Linked DNA regions of Homo sapiens: region 1 is linked to region 2. Evidence: promoter capture Hi-C in 16 types of primary human blood cells and fetal thymus (Javierre and others, 2016). All regions are on one chromosome and are shown on one strand. Each heading gives the region's core, a stretch centred on a gene start or on the middle of the fragment in contact. The rest is flanking DNA. Distances are from core to core; before and after follow the strand shown. Region 1 holds the start of ATPAF2 (ATP synthase mitochondrial F1 complex assembly factor 2). Region 2 holds the start of COPS3 (COP9 signalosome subunit 3).

Region 1 (5,952 bases), core at 1,590-4,089, 760 kb before region 2:
CTTCAGAAGTGAAACTAAGATTTGTTTTAAATGACCAAAAGGAGAGCTTGAGGAATAAATATACTGTACATTCCACCCTCACACCCCGGGGGGTGGGGCGGGGGGGAGGCAGTGGGGCAGCACACAGTGCCTTTCAGAGGGACAGGTGTTTGGAGGGGCTTCTGGGAACAGCCTGGCAGATGAGGTGTCAGACTAAGGAAAAAAAGGGCAAAGGGAAGGGGAAAGGGGTCCTTAGTCAGGCAGGGGTAGGTATAGAGGAGGAAGAGTTTTGTGGGGAGGGGAGATAAAAGAGTATTCACCACTGCCACTCCATTTCAGCTGGCAAAAAGTGTCAAGCCTGAGAGGAGTGAGGTGTGGGAAAGGCCCAGACAAGTGAAGCTGTACTTCCGAAGCTGATCAGGGACTGGCAGCAGGTATTCAGGAATCCAGGTCAAATGGGGGGAGGCGACTGGACATGAACTAAAATTGGGTGAGTTAGATTTCCCAGTACATGGGTACCAGAGACTAAGAGGAAGCCCTGTGCCTGTGTAGAGAAAAGTTAAGAACAGGAAAGAGGGTCCCCTGGAACCAGGATCGAGCAAGACGAAGGTATGGGGTGGGGAAGTCTGGATAGAGGCCAGGAAGACTGGGAAAAGACTGCAAATGGTCCCAGAGCAGGGGCAGGAGGCCTGGGGGTGGAGAAGCTGGAAGGAGCTGGGTGCCTGGACCATGAAGAGACAGAAGCAGTGAGTGGAACAGGGGACCCAGGAGGCAACATCCCAACAGACTGTGAGCAGCACTCAGGGAGTGAGTGCCTGGTCTTGAGGTGAGGCCAGGGCCTGACCAATCAGTTGCGGGTTAGGTGCTCCCCCGTCTGGGGGTCTGATGAAGCCCTCCTAAGGAGATCTCAGGAGGAGGAAGACCCCAAGGTCTGCGGATTCCTGGAACTGAGGAAGGGGCAGGAGGACATGTCTCAGGTCTGAGAGAATCTGACGTGGGCCCAGACATGGGGAGGGTCCCAAGTCTGGTGAAACCAATGGAGAGTTCTTCAGGGTCTGAAAAGGGCTGGTGGCAGTCCCTGATCTAGGGACGACAGGTCATGGGGAGGAAGGACCCAGGCCTTCTCCGAGTCATGAGGGGCTTCCGGATCCCAGACGGGCCGGTCACGGGCTTCAAGTCTGGGAGTGTTCGGGGTCCGCCAGGAGCCGGTCACGACGGGCTCTGGGTCCGAAGGGGCAGGTCAGGGCTGGGGCTCGGAGAGTGTGAGACACAGGCTGGGAAGGTCCCGGGTGGGAAGCGCCGGGTGCAGGAGGCCCCGGCGGCGAGGGCCTGTTCCGCGGCTGCGGGGTCGAGGAGCCGAAGCGGGCACGGCCCGTGAGCGCCGCGAGGAGGCCCTCGGGCCCCGGCCCGGCCCGGCGCTCACCTGCAGCACCACCTCTACGTCGTACGAGTTCCCCTTGCTCTTCTGGTGGCCGCGGAACTTGGAGCCGCTGTAGAGCAGGCTGGTGGCCACGCCGGGCTGCTGGGTGTTGATGGGCGGCGGCGGGATGAGTGAGGCCGCGGAGGCAGCGGAGGCACCGGCCGGCGGGGGACACTCGGTGCGGACCGGCATCGCGGGGTCCCCCGGAGCCAGGGCTGGGGGGAGTGGGAGAGGAACCGCCGCCGCCGCGCGGGAGCCGAGGAGGGTGGCGGGGAGGGAGAGGCCGGGGCGCGCACGCGCGGGGTGGGGGCGGGAGGGGCGACCACCCGCCCGCTGCCTGCGGAGCAAGCGCTCCGGCCGCCACCGGGACCCAGGGACCTGCGAGCAGGGCCTCCCAGTCCTGAGCTGGGTCCCCCTCCCGACTTGCCCTCGCGCACACATACACACACACAGACACTCACAGACACACAACACACAAACACACACAGACACACACACACCCCGCCCCTTCCGATTGGCTCAGGCGAGCCTGGGGGGCGGGAGCAGGCTCAGGCGGCGCTTCCGCCCATTGGCGGGAGGAGAAAACACGTGGCGCGGTGCGCGAGCGGCCCGCTGGGACTTGTAGTCTCCTCGCCGAGGCGCGGCGTGGAGGGGGCGGGGCGAGGTGCGTTTGTGATGCTGATTGACTGGGGGTGTGCGCAGGAGGCGCGCGGCGGCGACGGCGCGCCGTAGGTGTCATGCGGAAGATGGCGGCGTCCAAGGGAGGTTGAGGGCTCTGAGGAGGCGTTGAGAGGTTTCCGTACAGCCCGACCGTGCGGCTTTGGGGATCCCATCGCTCTGTGTTTCCTGCTCCAGGTTTCGCGTCTCGCATCTTCCCAGACCCTCGGGCGCGATGTGGAGGAGCTGCCTCCGGCTGCGGGACGGGGGACGCCGTCTCCTGAATCGGCCGGCGGGTGGCCCCAGCGCTTCTATGAGTCCGGGGCCAACCATCCCGTCTCCAGCCCGGGCTTACGCCCCGCCGACAGGTAAGACCATGACATGTTCTTTTGGGTTGGGGCCGAGCTGGGGTAAGGTGGGCTTCGGGCTTCGGCTGTGCAAAGCGAAGTAACTGAGGCAGGGTTCAGGCTCATGAGGTTATGCAGGCCAGTCAGGTCTTTTTACAGATGAGAAAGTGAAGCCCAGACAAGGGCAGACGACCCGAGAGGGAACAGCGAGTCACGCACGATACAGTAATTGATATTTGGCCTGTGCAGGTTTTCTCAAAGCTTATGGCTGCCCTCCCTTTAATAAGGAAAGCAGGTGTCATCTTTGTTTTCAAAAGGGGAAGTTTGGGCTCTGAATCAGGACTTCGTCTGGGTTACAGGCAGACTCTCTCAGAGGTTTGTGGTGTCTGTCTGACTGTTTTCCGTGTCTCCACTGCCCAACACAAGACCTGCCCAGAAGGGACCTAGAACCTGGGCCTTCATTCCTCCATCCCGGGCACTTCTGCTGCAGGTTTCCTGACTTTCCCTCCTACCACAACCTCTGCCATCTGCAGCCTTCTCTCCTAAATAGAAATTGACACCTCCACCTCTGACTGTGGAGTCACCTCCACCTCCAACTCTGATGAAGCTTAGAAGTAGTGGCTCTTTCATTGCTGATGGTGAGTGGTGTCAGGGTAAGAGTGAGAATGACTCATTTCAGTGAATGAAGAGCAGTAACACCCTCCCACCATTCAATTAGTTTTATTGTGCTGGAGGCAGGAGGCACGGTTGTCTTTAAGACCCACCTGTATGTATTGGTAGAGAAGCTCAATTAAAGAAGAAAAAGGCCCACCTGAATGATGTTCACTGTTCATTGCAAAAGGTTATAATATTCTGATTAAATTGTGGTTTATAATATCCTGATAAGGGACATACAAAGAAACTGTGAGAACACAGAGAATCGCTTACTCCCATCTTGGGGATGTTCAGGGTTTAGAATGGGTCTTGGGTGAAAGGGCGTTTGTTTAAGCTGAGCCATGATAGATGAGTAGGAGTTCAGCAAAAAGGTGGGAGAGTGTTGGGTATCTAGAACGTGTCCAGGGTGACAGCAAGGTATGAGGGACTTTTCCCTGACACTGCCTGTTTTAGAAAATCCAGAACTTCACAGGCAGTTTGGCATTGTGGCAGGAGTGCAAATCTAGGATCTGATGCTGGCTGAACCTCTGAGGTCTGTGTGATCTTGGGCATGCAACTACTTCCTCATTTTTCTCCATGCGTTGAAGTACTAGGTTGCCTTTGAGGATCTTTCTGGCTGTCAAGTTCTTTTTTTTTCTTCTTCTTCTGTTTTTTTGTGTTTTTTTGAGACGGAGTCTCCTCTGTCACAGAGGCTGGAGTGCAGTGGCACCATCTCGGCTCACTGCAACCTCCGCCTCCCAGATTCAAGCGATTTTGTGGTCTCAGCCTCCCAAGTAGGTGGGACTACAGGCGTCTGCCACCATGCCCTGCTAATTTTTGTATTTTTAGTAGAGATGGGGTTTATATTGACTAGGCTGGTCTCGAACTCCTGACTTTGTGACCCGCCCACCTCGGCCTCCCAAAGTGCTGGGATTACAGGCGTGAGCCACCGCGCCCAGCCAAGTTCTATAACTTTATAGAAATGGGGAAGGGGGCTGGATGCAGCAGGGAGCTGAAGTTTCACCTGCAGGACTCAGGGGAAGGGCCTGGAAATGGGCCATGAAGGGCCAGTAAAGAAGAGAAAGGAAGGGCATCCCAGGGAGGCATAGCAAAGGGGACACATTCAGGAGTTCACCAAGTTGGCAAAAAGCAAAGGGTTAATTAATTTATTTATTTACGTATTTATTTATTTATTTTGAGATGGAGTTTTACACTTGTCACCCAGGCTGGCATGCAATGGTGTGATCTTGGCTCACTGCAACCTCTACCTCCCAGATTCAAGCAATTCTCCTGCCTCAGCCTCCCAAGTAGCTGGGATTACAGGTGTCCGCCACCACACGTGGCTAATTTTGTATTTTTAGTAGAGATGGGGTTTCACCATGTTGGCCACACTGGTCATGAACTCCTGACCTCAGGTGATCCTCCCGCCTCAGCCTCCCAAATGCTGGGATTACAGGCGTGAGCCACCATGCCTGACCACAAAGGGTTAATTTAGATTTGTGGATGCTCACTTTACATAATGGTGGCACTTGATCTACTGCCTTCTTTTCCTTTTTAAAAAGCCTAAACTTACTAGTTAGGCTCTTGGAAGTACCTGGCACATGGTAGGTAGTCAAATGTGAAAGAAAATAGGAATGAATGAATGAGAAGGGAGGTGCATAAATCAGGCCCATGCATGCTTTTTTTTTTTTTTGAGACAGAGTCTTGCACTGTCACCCAGGCTGGAGTGCAGTGGCGCAATCTTGGCTCACTGTAAGCTCCGCCTCCCGGGTTCACGCCATTCTCCTGCCTCAGCGTCCCGAGTAGCTGGGACTACAGGTGCCCACCACCACACCTGGCTAATTTTTTTGTATTGTCAGTAGAGACGGAGTTTCACCATGTTAGTCTGGATGGTCTCGATCTCCTGACCTCATGATCCACCCTCCTCAGCCTTCCAGAGTGCTGGGATTACAGGCATGAGCCACCGCGCCCGGCCCCCGACCCCCACGTGTTCTCTCTAAAGACCTTACCAGTTGTGAGATATTTGTGCGTATTTGAAGTAGTAGAAGATTAAACCGCAGTGGGTTCTTCTCAATGAACACTTCAGTCAGCAAGCTGATTGAACTTGGCCACTTAGGAATGGCCATGCCATTGAAGGTTATCAGAAGGAGAGGAGGAGTTTACGAAAGGGTCACTGAGGTGTTGGAGAAGGAGATATTGCAACAAGAAGACCTATATGAGGTTGTTGTGGCAGTTTAGTTCTGCACCAGCTTATCAGAGGTCTATTGACTCCCAGAGTGGCAGGTGTTCTGGAGAAACCTATCTATTCAGCGTATCTGGCTGAATGCAACTGCCTGATGAAGTCAAGGCTAGAAGTCTTGTCTCTGCTATTTACCAGTTGTCTGTCACCAAGACAAGATGTTTAGCTTCTCTATCACCTCCGAGGCATTAGCTGCCTTGTCATCCTCATAGAATAGTGGTGTGGATTGAGGGAGATTATGTAGTCTGTAGATCAGGGTCCAGCCTGCCACCTGTTTTTGTAAATAGAGTTTTATTGGAACACAGCCACATGCATTCATTTACATATCATCTATGGCTACTTTCACTACAGTGGCAGAGTTGAATAGTTGGAACAGATATTGTATGGCTTGCAAAGCTTAGAATATTTACTATCTGATTCTTTGCAGAAAAAGTTTGCTAAATGTTATACATTTGGCCTGAAGGATTTTTTTAACAGCTTTATTGAGATATTTACTTGCTATACAATTCATTTACTTGAAGTGTAAATATAATAGTTTTTAGTATATTTACAGAATTGTACAGCCATTGCCACAATCAATTTTAGAACATTTTTATCACCCTTAAAAGAAACCTGCACCCTTTAGCTATCATCCACCCTTACTACTTCCATCCCTTGGCAACTACTACTTTCCTTTG
Region 2 (5,837 bases), core at 2,395-4,894:
ATTTCTGGAAATCACCGTTTTTTTTTTTTCGAGACAGGGTCTCACTCTCTCACCGAGACTGGAGCGCAGTGGCATGATTTCAGCTCACCACAACCCCCACCTCCCAGGCTCAAGCGATTCTCCTGCCTCAGACTCCCAAGTAGCTGGGATTACAGGTGTGCACCACTACCGCCTGGCTAATTTTTATATAGGCGTGAGGGTCCGTGCCCAGTTTCAGAGCTCTTGATATAGGAAGTCTACAGTGGGGTCCAAGAATGTGCATTTCCAAGAAGATCCCAAATGACGCTGACGCTGCTGATTGGTGGAGTCACAGTTTGAGAGCAGCTGCCACAACCTAAATAGGCAATAATAAATAAACAATCAAAGTATTATTAGTAGCTGTGGCTACTTTGAATTATTGTAGTGCTTTACTTATCTTCAACATTTTTGGCTTTCACCAAAATCCATGTATATCCATGGAAATGTGTCCCATAAGTCAAAATGTCTGTCTTGTGTGTTGCAAATGATCAAAGATTAAGGACCAATTGCTTCCATAGAACATTCAGGAGCATTTCCATCTTAGAGTACAAGTGCTACAGTCATTCATCTAAACATGTCTCAAGTTCACCAATTTATCCTGGTGAATTTATCTACACTTTCGAAAGAACTATTATTATTACTATTTATTTGAAAGAAACAGGGTCTTACTCTGTCACCCAGGCTGGGGTGCAGTGGCGAGATCATAGCTCATTGCAGCCTTAAATTCCTGGGCTTAAGTGGTCCTCCCACCTCTGCCTCCAGAGTAGCTGAGACAATAGGCATGCACCACCACAACCAGCTAGTTTTTAAAATTTTTTTTGTAGAGACAAAGTCACGCTGTGTTGTCTAGGCTGGTCTCGAACTCCTGGTAAGAGTAAAACTATTAGCATTCAAGGTATAATTATTTAAAGTATAATTATTACTATTCTATTTTATGTTGACTATTGCAATAGCTTCCTGTCTCCCAAGTTATCCATGTGAAGCCAGACAAATCTTTTTAAAATGCAATTTTTGTTGTTGTTGTTTTGTTTTTTGAAGTTGAGTCTCTTTTTATTGTCCAGTCTGGAGTGCAGTGGCCTGATCTCAGCTCACTGCAACCTCCACCTCCCTGGTTCAAGCGATTCTCCTGCCTCAGCTCCTGAGTAGCTGGGATTACAAGCACACGCCACCACACCCGGCTATTTTTTGTATTTTTACTAGAGACAGGATTTCATCTTTCTGGCCAGGCTGCTCTTGAACTCCTGACCTCGTGATCCACCCACCTCAGCCTCTCAAAGTGCTGGGATTACAGGCGTGAGCCACCACGCCCGGTCCTAAAACGCAAATTTGATCCTGCCACCGCTTGCATAAAACTCTCCAGTCCTCCCAATCTTCTCAGGAAAAAGTCCAGTACCTTTAACACAGCTTACATGACCTGGCCCCTGTCCACCTTACAAACTACTCCCCTCCAACCACAAGGACATTCTTTCAGTTCTTCATTCTCAACTAGCATGCTCCTTTCACTTGCAGGGTCTTAGCACCATACTGTCCTCTCACTCAGAAATATTCCTTCCCCCTTATCTTATTAACTCTTCCTCTTTCTTCGTTGCTCAGTTTATGCCATTTCCTCAAGAAAGCCTTCCCTGTTTCTCCCAAGCCAGGTCAATCTCCTCTGTGACATGATTTTATAGAACCATGTTCCATTCCTTCAGACCACTAACTCCTTTTATCTAGGGTCTTCATGTGTTGTCTGCAGGAGAGAAGGACCGAAACTGTTTTGTTTTGTTTTGTTTTGTTTGAGTCAGATTCTTGCTCTGTCGCCCATGCTGGAGTGCAGTGGTGCCATCTCGGCTCACTGCAACCTCCACTTCCCGGGTTCAAGAGGTTTTCCCATCTCAGCCTCCCGAGTAGTTGGGACTACAGGTACCCATCACCAAGCCCAGCTAATTTTTGTAGTATTTTTAGTAGAGATGGCTTTTCACCATGTTGGCCAGGCTGGTGTCCAACCCCTGACCTCAAGTGATCCACTTGCTTCAGTCTCCCAAAGTGCTGGATTACAAGCGTGAGAGACTGCACCAGGCCCCAAGACTGTTTTTACTACCACTGTATTTCTAGTGCCTGGTACAACACATTGTAAGTGTCAGTAAACATATGTTGGATAAAATTTTAAAATGCATGTTTATTTTCTCAGTCCCTACTATGCAGCAAATCCTATGCTGGGCCCTAAAGGGGAACCAAGGTTAGTAAGAGAAATGCTTGACCTTAAGGAACTCCATGCCAGTTAGAAGCAATGGATCCGTAAACCAAAAGTATCTGAGACCAGTCTCAATCGAGAAAGTTTATATTGCCAAGGTGAAGGATGCGATGATAACACGGCCTCAGGAGCTCCTCAGGACATGTGCCCAAGGTGCGGGTACAGTTTGGTTTTATACATTTTAGGGAGACATGAGTCATCGATCAATACATGTAAGATGTACGTTGGTTAGGATCGGAAAGACGGGCTAACTCGGGGCAGTGGGGGGCTTCTACCTTATAGGTAGACTTAAAGATTTTTTGATTGGTAATTGGTTGAAAGAGTTATTATCTAAAGACCTGGAAGTAAATAGAAAGAAATATCTGGGTTATGATTATAAGGGGTTGTGGAGACCAAGGTTTTATCATGCAGATGAGGCTTCCAGGTAGCCTGCTATTCAGACAGAATAGATTGTAAATATTTCTTATCAGTCTTGAGTCTACCAGTCTTAAGGTCTCTGTGTTGATGTTTGTGAGGCATGTCTGACTACCACTTCCCATCATGGCCTGAACTAGTTTTTCAGGATAAATTGGAATGTCCTTGGCTTCAGATAGGGTCCACCAGTCAGTTGGGGGGCTTAGACTTTTATTTTTGGTTTACAGATATCACATGGACTATAGAGACACATTTCTGTAACAGAGTAGAAGTGCAACATGAGAAGAACAAAGTGCTTTAGGCGACAAGCGGAGGAGGGAGACATCAATCCCAGATGGGAAAAATCAATTCACTTTCTGTGTGTGGTGTTACTTATTTATTTATTTTTTGCAGGGAAGGGATCGATTCATTCAACGTACACCTTGAATGAATAACTATAGTTCTCCCTACGTCCTATGCACTGTCCTAAGTGTTTTACGTGGTTAAGGACACTAAGATTTTACAGATGGGGAAAACAATGCACACGACAGTCAAGTGACCCGCTCAACGTCACACAGCTACTAAGTGGTAGAAAAGGCAGTTGAACCCAGGCTGCTTGGCTCCAGAGTCTAATATCACGGGGAAAACCTCACGGGAGACGTGGCAACGAAGTTGTGCTTCATTGAAGTATCTGTCCAGGTGGAAAACCGCAGGGCCTCTCTAGCAAAATCCAGAACCAGAAAATACTTGCTTAATTATGAGTTTCCTTCCTTCTTTTGCCCACTATCCCCATTTAACCTGCGGAGGGATTTCAGAAGTGCAGTGAATAAAGATGCAGGGGACTATGGAACACTAATTTCCGGCTACGGCGAATTCAGGCTGTTTCCATGGAAACAGTAACGGGTGGGCAGCTAGGTATAGTCTCGCGGTGCTTGAACCAGCGGAAGTGACGTCGCCGCTCGCGAGGACCTCAGGTGGATCGCCGCGGCCCCTCCTCCCAGAGCGGCAGCCTTTTCCCGCGCGTGCTGCCTTCGCCGCTCGGGCCGCCCGGGGGAAAACATGGCGTCTGCCCTGGAGCAGTTCGTGAACAGTGTCCGACAGCTCTCAGCTCAAGGTAACGCCCTAGGCCGCCGGGCTGGGCATGGGCGGGTACCGGGAACTGGCCTGGATCCCCAGGCGCCAGCACGGACGGCTGGAACAGCCCTTTTAGTCCTGAGACTCTTCTCCGGGGCCGGGCTTGGGGTTGCGGCGTTTAGATCAGGGCAGGATCGAGCGCGGCCGAGTGTAGGCAGCCCCCTCGCGCTCCGCTGTCCTCGCCGGCCGGCCTCCCCTCCCTCGGGCCGCCGGGAGCCCCCTCCCCCCGGCCTGGGCCCCTTCCACCGGGCGCTTTGCTTGACAGTTTGGGGGCGTGACTTCCGCCAGGAGCCATCTCGGGCGACTATTGGTTCCTTCTGTCTCTCTTGCCTTCGGTGATTGGCGCACCGCCATGTCATCTTTGCCGCCGATCCGCAGCTTGCTGACTAGGCCGCCGGGAGCGGGCGGGAGGCGAGTCCGTTCTGGGTGTCTTGGCTCTATGGCTCGCCTCTGCCAGCTCCTCCGCTGCCAGGCGGCGCACGCTCGGGAACCTGTGCGCCTATTTTGGTCCTACAGAATGCTGCGGAAGCTCTCGCTCGTAGGACTCCATTTCTTCTTCTTTGTTTTTTTTTAGCCGAGGCTGGAGTGCAGTGGCGCGATCTCGGCTCACTGCAACCTCAGCCTCCCGGCTTCAAGCGATTCTCCTGTCTCAGCCTCCCGAGTAGCTGAGATTACAGGCGCCCGCCAGCTCACACGGCTTTTTTTTTTTTTGAGACGGAGTCTCACTGTCTCCCAGGCTGGAGTGCAGTGGCGCGGTCTCGGCTCACCTCAACCTTCGCCTTCGAGGTTCAAGCGATTCTCCTGTCTCAGCCTCCCGAGTAGCTGGGATTACAGGCGCCTGCCCGGCTAATTTTTGTATTTTTAGTAGAGACAGGGTTTCACCATGTTGGCCTGGCTGGTCTCGAACCTTGATCTCAGGTGATCCACTGGCCTCGGCCTCCCAAAGTGCTGGGATTACAGGCATGAGCCACCGCGGCCAGCCCACGCGGCTAATTTTTTCGTATTTTTAATAGAGATGGGGTTTTTACCATGTTGGCCAAGCTGGTTTCGAACTCCTCACCTGAAGTGATCCGCCCACCTCGGCCTCCCAAAGTGCTAGGATTACAGGCGTGAGCCACTGCGCCCGGCCAGGACTCCATTTCTAGGGGTAGAATTGTGATGATTTTACTCGCACTTTCCAGGTTGTTTGGTTCATTCATTGCGTATGAATGTACCGAATTCTGGACCTGAAATTCGAATGATTAGATGCTGGCTGTGAAGGCCCTTTTAACTATCCCGTGCTTCAGTTTCTTCGTCTGCAAAATAAGTCCCTAGTTTATGTAGAGTTGTGAAGATTCAATGAGAGAAACCATGTAAAAGCAGTTGGAACAGTGCCTGTCATAAGGGGTGCAATAAATATAGCTGCAAATTATTGTTACCGTCATTAATTGCAAAGTTCTAGGAGCTGCTTGACCTTGGACAAATAACCTTTAATCTCTGAGTCTTTTGCATCTCCATTGTAAAAATGGAGGGGTGCTTTTACCTCACTGGTGTAAGACAAATGGTCTGATATGGAGCTGCACTTAATAAGAATTCTTCCTCTTTTTCCTTTTTATTAATAGAAATGAGGTTCACAGGGAAGGCACAGGCTTGCCTTTTCTATGAATAAAGGAACCACTGGTTTGTTAATTTATTCGACAAATACTTAGTGTTCTCCTTCCTGGGGTGTAGTGTAGTTAGAAGCTTCAGGTTGAAATCCTGTCGCGGTCACTTCTTGGGTGAACCACTTAATTTCCCTGGGCCAATTTTCTTAATTACAAAACAGAACTAGGGCTGTTGTGGTCTTCAGGTTATAGGATGCTATAGGAACAGTCTGCTAGACAGAGATAAATATGGTAACTTTCATTGCTGTCGGCTACTGTGCCTCACACTCACTGGATAGGAAATCTTTGAGTTTCAGGCCAGGCGCAGTGGCTCACTCCTGTAATTCCAGCACTTTGGGAGGCCGAGGCGGGCGGATCATCTGAGGTCAGGAGTTCAAGACCACCCTGGCCAACATGGTGAAACCCTGTCTCTACTA

What was found. Contacts are between HindIII fragments. The CHiCAGO score rates a contact against its expected background, and 5 or more counts as called.
Region 1: a contact is called between a fragment that was not itself captured here and the fragment with the promoter of COPS3 in region 2, in 1 of 17 cell types (fetal thymus). The highest score is 5.7, in fetal thymus.

What each region holds. Positions count from the first base shown.
Region 1 is chr17:18,035,353-18,041,304 of GRCh38, reverse strand. ATPAF2 (ATP synthase mitochondrial F1 complex assembly factor 2) reads left to right here and starts at 2,137. Exons shown (of 8, transcript NM_145691.4): 1 at 2,137-2,424. The coding sequence starts at 2,292. It overlaps GID4 (GID complex subunit 4 homolog), which reads right to left and starts at 1,897. Exons shown (of 6, transcript NM_024052.5): 1 at 1,403-1,897. The coding sequence starts at 1,840. RefSeq lists enhancers at 889-948, 2,099-2,208, 2,349-2,398, 2,409-2,478 and silencers at 1,299-1,888, 1,899-1,988. The HindIII fragment of the contact is 346 bases long and covers 2,667-3,012 here.
Region 2 is chr17:17,279,053-17,284,889 of GRCh38, reverse strand. COPS3 (COP9 signalosome subunit 3) reads left to right here and starts at 3,644. Exons shown (of 12, transcript NM_003653.4): 1 at 3,644-3,758. The coding sequence starts at 3,704. RefSeq lists enhancers at 3,447-3,546, 4,197-4,256 and a silencer at 3,767-4,006. The HindIII fragment of the contact is 7,073 bases long and covers 1-5,502 here.